Linked DNA regions of Homo sapiens: region 1 is linked to region 2. Evidence: promoter capture Hi-C in 16 types of primary human blood cells and fetal thymus (Javierre and others, 2016). All regions are on one chromosome and are shown on one strand. The core of a region is centred on a gene start or on the middle of the fragment in contact, and the rest is flanking DNA. Distances in the headings are between cores, read along the strand shown.

Evidence for each region. Contacts are between HindIII fragments. The CHiCAGO score rates a contact against its expected background, and 5 or more counts as called.
Region 1: a fragment that was not itself captured here is called in contact with the fragment with the promoter of OVCA2 in region 2 in 8 of 17 cell types (endothelial precursors, monocytes, activated CD4 T cells and 5 more); the score reaches 7.7 in endothelial precursors.

What each region holds. Positions count from the first base shown.
Region 1 is chr17:2,150,839-2,155,783 of GRCh38, reverse strand. The region is part of intron 13 of SMG6 (SMG6 nonsense mediated mRNA decay factor); the gene reads left to right. Among named protein-coding and RNA genes, the nearest start is that of SMG6-AS1, 64 kb to the right of the region's middle. The HindIII fragment of the contact is 886 bases long and covers 2,693-3,578 here.
Region 2 is chr17:2,040,772-2,046,230 of GRCh38, reverse strand. OVCA2 (OVCA2 serine hydrolase domain containing) reads right to left here and starts at 4,209. Exons shown (of 2, transcript NM_080822.3): 1 at 4,000-4,209; 2 at 2,806-3,626. The coding sequence starts at 4,183. The coding sequence ends at 3,127. DPH1 (diphthamide biosynthesis 1) reads right to left here. Exons shown (of 13, transcript NM_001383.6): 10 at 5,050-5,128; 11 at 4,610-4,750; 12 at 4,356-4,463; 13 at 2,333-3,626. The coding sequence ends at 4,374. RefSeq lists silencers at 3,907-4,106, 4,617-4,706 and an enhancer at 4,297-4,356. The HindIII fragment of the contact is 21,411 bases long and covers 1-5,459 here.

The DNA of each region.
Region 1 (4,945 bases), core at 1,886-4,385, 110 kb before region 2:
TCTCTGCATTTGTATGTGTGCATATGCTTACATGCTTGTGCCCTTTATGTACAAGCTGCGTTTCTGTACCATTTCCTTCCTCTCTTGAAGCACCCAAAAAGTGCTAGAAGGACTAAGTTGTGAAGCAGAGGCGTGGAGATCAGACACTATGGTAGGAGTGGGATGTGTTCTCTTCTTCAGGCTCACTGCTTTCATAGCTTTCTGGGTACTGCTGTAACACACATCTTTTTCCATGGAACCTACTTGCTCCTTATGGTCATGTAACCTCATTATAAGAGGCATACTTTTTCATTTAATCTGCTATATCTTTGGAGGTGGCTATCCTCATCATTTTATTGTTAATGACATGAAGAGAAACTTTATTTTCACATGGATACTTTATGTTTTTTCCCTTACCCACTGAAAACATGACAGATTTCTTGGTTCATTCGCCGTGGCTCACGCCTATAATCCCAGCACTTTGGAAAGCTGAGGCGGGCAGATCACCTGAGGTCAGGAGCTTGAGACCAGCCTGACCAACATGGTGAAACCCTGTCTCTACTAAAAATACAAAAAGTAGCCGGGCATGGTGGCGCACACCTGTAATCCCAGTAATCCCAGCTGCTAGGGGTGCTAAGGCAGGAGAATCACTTGAACCAGCAAGGTGGAGGTTGCAGTGAGCTGAGATCCCACCACTGCACTCCAGCCTGGGTGATGGAGTGAGACTCCATCTCAAAAAAAAAAAAAAATTTTTTTTCTCAGAGTATACTTTGTTTTTTTTGAGACAACATCTTGTTTTGTTGCCAGTGCTGGAATGCAGTGGCTCACTGTGGCCTCAACCTTCTGAGCTCAAGGGATCCTCCCACCTCAGCTTCTGAGTAGCTGGGACCACAGGTACATGCTACCACACCCCGCTAATTTTTGTATTTTTTTGTAGAGATGAGATTTCACCATGTTGCCCAGGCTGGTCTTGAAGTCCTGAGCTCAAGCAGTTCACCCACCTTGGCCTCCCAAAGTGCTGTGATTACAGCCACCATGCTGTCCTTATACTTTTTAATTAGAGGTTAGCAGGTGTTTATTATTAACAATAGTTTCAGTATTCATTTTTATTAAGTTCTGTGCACATTAATCCCTTCCAGCCAGCAGGCCTCTAGTTAGTCTAGGCCTCTGATTTCAGCTTGAATATACACTTTGCTCTTTTGGAGAAACAGAGACCTCTGCCTAAGTGAAACAGGACATGTAAAGGGAGGAGGAATACCAGGCTGAGATTTCATACCTTTGTAATCTCTAAAGAAGGTTGTATTGTCTCTACAACAAGGAAAAAGTTGAAGGACAAAGGGCATAAAATTCTTTTTTTCCAACATAAATCTTTGTCTGTTTTATAGTGTTGTCTGTAATTTCAAGGTGAAAGTGGGCCCTCCCTCAGCCCCGTCACACTCTAGATGCATCCCCAGATTCCCCCCCGTCACCGTCACACTCTACATGCATCCCCAGGTTTCCCAGTCACCGTCACACTCTAGATGCATCCCCAGGTTTCCCAGTCACCGTCACACTCTAGATGCATCCCCAGGTTTCCCAGTCACCGTCACACTCTGCGTGCATCCCCAGGTTCCCCCGTCACCGTCACACTCTACGTGCATCCTCAGGTTTCCCAGTCACCGTCACACTCTACATGCATCCCCAGGTTCCCCAGTCACCGTCACACTCTACATGCATCCCCAGGTTCCCCCAGTCACCGTCACACTCTATATGCATCCCCAGGTTCCCCAGTCACCGTCACACTCTACATGCATCCCCAGGTTTCCCCAGTCACCGTCACACTCTACATGCATCCCCAGGTTCCCCAGTCACCGTCACACTCTACGTGCATCCCCAGGTTCCCCCGTCACCGTCACACTCTACGTGCCTCCCCAGGTTCCCCCGTCACCGCACACTCTACGTGCATCCCCAGGTTTCCCAGTCACCGTCACACTCTACATGCATCCCCAGGTTCCCCCAGTCACCATCACACTCTACGTGCATCCCCAGGTTTCCCAGTCACCGTCACACTCTAGATGCATCCCCAGGTTCCCCCGTCACCGTCACACTCTACATGCATCCCCAGGTTCCCCAGTCACCGTCACACTCTACATGCATCCCCAGGTTCCCCCAGTCACCGTCACACTCTACATGCATCCCCAGGTTCCCCAGTCACCGTCACACTCTACATGCATCCCCAGGTTCCCCCAGTCACCGCGTGGAGTGGCGTTCCACCAGTTTACCCCTGTGCCATAGAGACTCTTAGCAACCAAGATGGGCGGGTTTGCATAAGTTAAAATTCACTCTGTTGTACAGTTTTGAGAAACACATACTTTCATGTAACCATCACTACAATTAAGATATAGACCATTTTCAACACCCCCAAAAATTCCCTCATGCAACCAGCTCCCTTCCCAACCCCAGTCCCTGACAACTTCTGATGTTTTCTGTCTCTGTAACTTAGCTTTTTCCAGAATGACGTATAAATAAAATCATACAGTACATAGAGCAGGGGTGCCAATCTTTTGGCTTCCCTGGGCCACATTGGAAGAATTGTCTTGGGCCACACATAGACTACACTAACACTAACGATAGCTAATAAGCTTTAAAAAAAAGTCTCAAAAAACATCTCATAGTATTTTAAGAAAGTTTATAAATTTGCGTTGGGCTGCGTGGGCCACGGGTTGGATAAGCTTGATATAGAGCTCTTGAGTCTGGCTTCTTTTCGCATAGCGTAATACATTTGAGATTCATGCATGCTGTTGCCTATATCAATCATATGTTCTTTTTTGTTGCAGAGTAGTATTCCATTGTATACATACACTATGATTTGTTTATCCATTCACCAGTTGAACATTTGGGCTATTTGCAGTTTTTGGTGGTCATGGATAGAACTGCTGTAAACATTTGTGCATCAGTCTTTACGTTTCTTAAATGAACTTAGGTTTTCATTTCTCTTGGATAAATACTTAGGAGTGGAACGGGTGGTTTATGTGATAAGAGTATGTTTAACTTCGCTAGAGACCAGCAAACTGTTTTACAAAGTGGCTGCACCGTATTGCACGAGCAGTTCCTGTTCTGGCATCATTATCAGCACTTGATCCTGTCAGTTTGTTTGTTTTTTAATAATTATACTAGGTACCTTGTGATTTTAATTCGCATTTCTCTAATGGCTAATGATGTTGAGCATCTTTTCATATGTTCATTTGTCATCTGTGTATCTTCTTTGGTGAAGTGTCTATTCACATCTTTTGCCTATTGTTAAATCGGATTATTTTCTTACTGAGTCTTGAGAGGTCTTTATATATTTAGGATGCAAATCCTTTGTCAGGTACAAATGCATTGCAGATATTTTCTCTCAGTCTGTGGCTTGTCTTTTCACTTTAGAGACTAAGTTTTGACTGATTAAATGCTGAGAGCTGAAGGGTTCACAGGCTCTCTTAGTAGAGGACCATAAGGAAATTGAGACCTTAGTCAGCAGAAAGTTGTGAGGACCACCCCTTTTGAAGCTGTTTATTTAAAATGAAAGAGGGGGATAAGGGGTGGGCCAAACTGAATTGTCCAGACAGATTTCTGAAGCTTTTTTCAGTTCTTTCTCCTGTCCCCGCCTATGATGTAGCTTCTGGGCTCTTACCTTCAACTGGGTTCCTCACTTCCTGCCATCACTCCAAATTCATCAAGGCCTCTCCGGCTCAGGCCGACTCCAACAGAATACCCGAGAGGTCAGGCCAGCTTCTTGCCCGTAGTATATTCCAGAGTGAAGTCGTTTTTTGATAAGTAATCATTCCCAATTCTAAAGTGATAGCCTCCAAGGAGTCATTGCTTTGAAGAACTCCTTTCATCTCCAGCTGGACTCTTTTCCAAACAACCATCGGCAGAGCCTAGTCAGGGTTCTGACACACAGGGTTCTGCCATGAGAAGCAAATTGGCAGCAGCAGACAGGCCCCCGAGGCAATGGAATTCAGTTCTCAGAACATACTCACCATGGGTCTCTTTCATGTTGTGTGGAATTCTTTCCACTGGGCAGCCGCATAGGTGTAGGGAAAATGTCCTGCCCCATTGGATAAAAGTCAAGAGAAGATACTATGTGGAATCTTGTCACTTTTTAATTGCTGATCCGTGTTAAGATGTTTTTCTTAAGCAGCATTTGCCACTGACTAGACATTAGTAGAGTTTCTTTTTCTTTGTGCATGTGACATGGATCACTAACACTGCATGTGATGGTCAGAGGAGGCCTGCCTTAGTGCTGGAGATCTGACCATTTCTCCAGGACAGTGGAGCCTGGTGAAGGCTCTCTGACTTCTGATCCCAGTTGGAGCAATGTGTTCAGAGAAGAATTTCTGAGCCTTCGTGAATCTCAGTTATTTGCATGTCTTTTTGTAAGCAAACAGCAACTTGTAGGCAGGCTTAAAACTTTCTTTTTCTGCTCATGAAAGTACAGATTTTGCTATAGACAAATCAATTGAATATAAAACTGTAATGTGGAATAATATTTCAGGCTTTAAAAATGGAGGGATGGGTTAAAAAGTTCTGCAATAAATCTGCAAATGTGGAATCTAAGGGAAATGATCCCATCTGGAAAACCCTGCTAGTGGTGCTATGGCTGGTTTGTGGAGCAGTGCAGACTGTGGAGTGAAAAAAGACCCTGTAGTCTTGAAAGATGACAAGCTCCTTAATTGATGTCCATTTCAGCTGGTGCTGTGCCAGCTTATGTTGGCCTCGGTCCAGCGTTCCTGTAATTTGGGAGCCAGGTGTGAAGCATTTTTGTTCCATCTTGTTCCCCAGCATCTACAGAAGCCTCACCCATCTTACTTGAGGCGGCAGCACGCCATAGGAAACAGATGTACAGGTAGAGGTGGAAGGAAGTGTCACAGCTGGGTTACGGATTTTTTTTTTTTTTAATCCTTCACACTCAAGTGAGATCTGGGTTTGAGAGTTGGGGGAAAGG
Region 2 (5,459 bases), core at 2,960-5,459:
CTTTTCAAATCCCTGCTTGGGAATGATGGGGGCAATTTGCCAAAATGCAGATTCCTGGGTCCCAGTGATTCTGACTCAGTACATCTGGAGTTGGCCCCAGAATTCAAGTTGGTTTTTTGAGATGGAGTCTCACTCTGTCACCCAGGCTGGAGTGCAGTGGCACAATTTCGGCTCACTGCAACCTCCGCCTCCTGGGTTCAAGCAATTCTCCTGCCTCAGCCTACCAAGTAGCTAGGATTACAGGTGCATGCCACCACGCCCAGCTACTTTTTTTTTTTTTTTTTTTTGAGACAGTTTCGCTCTCGTTGCCCAGGTTGGAGTGCAATAGCGTGATCTCGGCTTACCGCAACCTTTGCCTCCCAGGTTCAAGCAATTCTCCTGCTTCAGCCTTCCAAGTAGCTGGGATTACAGGCATGCGCCACCATGGTTGGCTAATTTTGTATTTTTAGTAGAGACAGAGTTTCTCTCTGTTGGTCTGGCTGGCCTCAAATTCCCAACCTCAGGTGATCTGCCCGCCTCCGCCTCCCAAAGTGCTGGGATTACAGGCATGAGCCACCACGCAGGGCCAGAATTCAGGTTTTAACCAATGTTCTGGATGTAAATGGTACACAGAATCTGCGTATTGGGGGTGGGGAGGGGCACAACCCCCTAAGAGTCTCTCTTGCTCCTGGACGGCATGATGGGAAGTGACCTGTTCCACTTGTCGAGAACTAGTGGACCCCATGTTTCCCTCTAGCTTGGACACTATGGTTCTCAGGAGGAATCCTCACCCCCGGCCAGGAGCCCTTCTCCTCCACCTACTACTGCTGGGCTCTACCTCCCCCACTTTTAATTTTAAGCCTTGGCTCAAAATTCACTCCCCAATATTTCTCCCCTTCTCTCTACTTTCGTCCTCAATAATCCCAAGCAGCTGGGGTGTACAAGTCGTTTTCACCTCTTGGGACCGTGCTAAAGGGGGCAGCCTATGATTACCATGAGGGTATGGGAGCCCTGAACTGCAAATCTATCATTTCCAGAGAAGCCAGAAATCTGAAATTTTCTGTGCAATTTCTGAAACTTTAAATCAGAATTTTTTCTAAAATTCAATGGGTCAGATACCACAGTCTGTGTAATCAATCCATTCCAAAGTCTCCTCCTTTTGCTAAAGGAGAAGATTCCTTAAAACAAGGCAGAAGCCAACTGAAGCAAGGGAGAACCACCTCCCACCCCTCCCCACACACACTTTCCACACCCAGTAACTAGGTCTCTGGGCGGATAATTCTGTTTTGTTTTGTTTTTTTTAATTTTGGACAGCTAATCTCTGTAGTGAGGAACCCAGAACTTTCGGTAATGTAAGGGATATTAGTCTGGTTGTCAGAAAAATGGGCTGGAGTATTTGTGCTGTGTCCCTGACCATAATTCCTGCTCAGTTGCTTAGCTCCCTGGCAACTATGTCTGAGGGCTAAACAGGAGTTGGTGTGATCTTCCAGAAAAAGAACAGGCTTCTTGTCTTGCAGAGGCAGGAAGTCAGAAAACAAGAGTGTGTGTGTGTGTGTCAGGGGGTGGGGGGTGTCAGGTGGCACTGGAAATGGGAGGGAACTCATTAAGAGTGGGCAATTGGCCAGGTGAGGTGGCTCACGCCTGTTAATTCCAGCACTTTGGGAGGCCAGGACAGGTGGATTGCTTGAGCTCGCAAGTTGGAGACCATCCGCACAACATGGTGAGACCCCTTCTCTACAACAAATACAAAAATTAGCCAGGCATGGTGATTTGCGCCTGCAGCCCCAGCTGCTTGGGAGGCTGAGGTGGGAGGATGGATGGCTTGAGCCCGGGAGGTGGAGGCTGTCAAGATTGTGCCACTGCACTCCAGCCTGGGTGATAGAGTCAGACCTTGTCTTTAAAAGTAAAGAAAACAAAAAAAGAGTGGGCAATCCTAGGTAGGTGCAGTGGCTCAGGCCTATAATCCTAGCACTTTGGGAGGCTGAGGCAGGTGGATTGTTTGAGCTAAAGAGTTTTGAGACCAGCCTGGGCAACGTGGCAAAACCCTATCTCTACAAAAAAATATAGAAATTAGCCAGGCGTGGTGGCGCATGCCTGTAACGCCACCTACTCAGGAGGCTGAGACAGAACTGCTTGAACCCAGGAGGCTGAGGTTGCAGTGAGCCAGGATCTTGGCCACTGCTCTCCAGCCTGGGTGACAGAGTGAGCCTGTCTCAAAAAAAAAAAAAAAAAGAGTGAGCAATCCTCAAAGTATCCAAGAACAACTACACGCCCCAAGGGGAAAACCAGCTGGATTGCTTAGGCCTTGGCTGTAGTCACTAAAGAATGGCATCAATCTCAGAAACCCTCAAGATGGGGTCAATTTAGGAAGAAGCTGTTTATTCTGTACTGTCTTTGGCCTCCACCTAAGGTCTGGCATCGACCCACCCTTCAGGCTCATAGTTCAGCGAGGTTAGAGCACTTAGGGAGAAGCAGGTAACACATCCAGGGTTTGAGAGAAGACCAGCACACAACTCTCAGTGATCTGGATAGAGGAAGACTAAATTACTGTGGTTCAGGCAGCCTTGCCAGGTGATGTCTTCCCAAAACTTCTCAGATGTATATTCCTCCCTGATTGTGCCACCTAGGCCTCCTTCCCTTCAGTTTGGGACTTAAAACTTCCACCAATAACGTGAGTATGTGCACCCATGCAGCAGCCTGTCCGAGGACTCACAACTGGAGACACCTCCCTGCTTGGCGCTGCCCAGAAAACTATGTAGATGGCCAAGAAACCGACTTCCATTATAAAATGTTTTTCTGTGTGTACCAGGAAAAAGATGCTCAAAATCCAAATCACCACTTTATTATGTGGCAGTCACCATGGTGCCAGCCTCTGCCTTCCCCATGTCACCCTCCTAATCCAGGGCTCTCCAACCATATTCATGTTTGCGTTTTCACAAGTCAATGTCCATTAAGGCCTTGTGCTCCCCTTTTCTTCAGTACAGGGCAGGGCCCTTATAATTTGGGTCTCAAGAATTGATAGTTGTCTCTTAACTGGTTCTGGTGAGGCGCACTCACAGCAGTGAGTGGAGGGTCCTGGGAGGGCATGGATGACGGAGGCTGCCCCTAGAGGAGCTGGATGTAGGAGCAGAGACATTTCTTGATCTTTCACTCTGCAAACTGGTCCAAGAACTTGAGGTAGGCCTGACGCTGGGGTGCAGCTGCTGGAATGAAGTGGCCACCAGAGTGGGTGAGGGTGATGGCTCCGGGAAATTGGCTGGCCAGTTGCACACTCTCCTGAGAGGGGATGACTTTGTCAGTGTCCCCAAAAACATGGAGCGAAGGCAATGACAAGGGCCTTTGCAGGATGGATTCCTTGAACCCAATGCCCCGGGGACAGAAACCAGACACCAAGAGGATAAACCGTGGCAAGGGGAAGCGGGGATCGCCTGCCTGGCCCAGGGCACACACAAGGGCTGCTAGCGCAGCCCCTTGGCTGAAACCAAGAAGGCCGTCAAAAGGCCCCAGCCTGTTCAGTGCCTGTGCCACCATCCCCAGTGATTCCTCCAGGCCCCTGCAGACGGCGGGCTCTTCCAATGCGGAGAAAACGTCGGCCTCCTGCTCTGAAAACCACCAGCCTCGAGGCTGCTCCTCCGGAGGGCAGGACCCTACAGCGATATGAGGAAAAAGGATGGGATTAGGGCATGGGAGGCTCCAGGAAGGAAAGAAATGAGAAAGGGCAGGAGGGTTCGAGATGACAGAGAGAAAAAGGGAATCGAGGCAAAAGTCTGGGGGAAATGAGAGGGGGGAAATGAGTGGATTGGCCTGAACAGGAGACAGCGGAGGAAGACGGTGAAGGCGGAAGCCTGGGAGGACAGGCTGCAGTTTGAGCAAAGAGGGTATGGGTCGCGAGAAATGAAGGGTGTGGACTGGGTGGGAGGAATGCGGGTGGACGCAGGGTGGGGGATGCTGAAGGGTGTCGAGGGGGACGAAACAAGATGGAGGAAACTGAGTGCGTTTCCGGAGCGGGGCTTGTCTCACCGAAGTCTGATCTGGCGCCCTCGGGGCCCGGGGGGTCGGGGACCGGGTGCGGGCCGCTGAGGCACACGAGCTCGGCGCGACCCCGCAGCGCCTTCCTCAGCGCCCCGGTCTTCTCACGGAAGCCCCGCTCGCTCTGCCGGAAGCCCGCCAGGCACAGGACCCGCAGGGGTCGCTGCGCGGCCATTATGCCCGGCAAGGAGCGACGGAAGCACCGGAAGCGGTCTTTCCCCGAGCGGAAGCACAATGCACGGGGCGGAACCGAACGTCAGCACCGCCCCGAGGGCGGGCCTCGGAGCGCCAAGGCGTTCCCATGACAACGGCAAAAGGCGGGGCGCACCCAGAGCGGGGGCTGATACCTGAGGCCCGGGAGCGCGTCAAGGAGCCAGCGGCGCCACCTTCTCGTCCCTGCAGCTGCAGTCCTCGCAAGCCACGGCCGAAGGGGGACGCGCGGACCCCTCCTGCACCTGAGGTCGCAGACTTTGGTTAGGGTCTCGCTCCTGCGACCCTGCGTTTCCCTCCGCTCCGCTCCTGTGCGTTTCCCGTCGCGGTCGCAGGGCGGCGGCCAGTGCCCAGGCGCGGTCTCTCCTCCCTCCTGGAAGCCCCCGCCTACCTTCCCCCGCGCGGGCCGGCCCGGGGCGTGGGGACGGCGGTCCTGGCCGTGGTTCACCGTCCAGGGCCCCAAGGAGCTGCCAGCGTAGAAGTCCATCGGGTAGGGCTGCTGCCAGGAAATGTCCCTCAGAGCCACGGCCGCCTAGGGGAGGGGAGGGAGGGACAATAACATCTGCCAGTGTTTTTCTGCCCCTGGATTACTGAATTCAGTCCTCACGACGGCCTGTGAAGGGCACACTGTCCCCTGCCACAGAAGGGAACTGTGTGGTTCAGGGCCTTGCCTAAGGCTACACAGCTAGGAAGTGACTCCGCTGGAGAAATCGAGACAGACTCCGGAATCTACGAACATAACGAAGTGCTGCCCACCCACCCCACTCCACTCCAGACCTCACCTTTGAGAACCACGTCCAAAGCCCACTCTCTCCCAGAGCTTGGTGTTACCTCATAGGGTGTCAGCAGCGGCTTGGGGAAGGCTGTGCCCCAGTCAATGGAGAGACGTGGACATGCCACCTGCACCCACCTGGGAAGGGAAGCCAGGTCAGACCCTAGGAAGGGCCTCCTCGTCGCCCAGGCAGCATGCTGAAGAACATGACAGTGCCCCCAGCACACCCATTCATTAACAGGCTTTATGAATCCTAAAGTAAAGACAGTGACCCACTGCTGTTTGGAATACTGTATTGTTGCGTGTTTTCTCCTGTTTCCTCTGCCGACAATGAGCTTTCCAGGGCAGCTCACTGGTGATAGTATCCCCAGAACCACATTTAGTACCTGGTACAGGGCAGGTGTCAGCCACCGCTCAAACTCATCTCACAAGGACAAATGTGATGTTGCCATTGCCTCTGAGCCCCAAA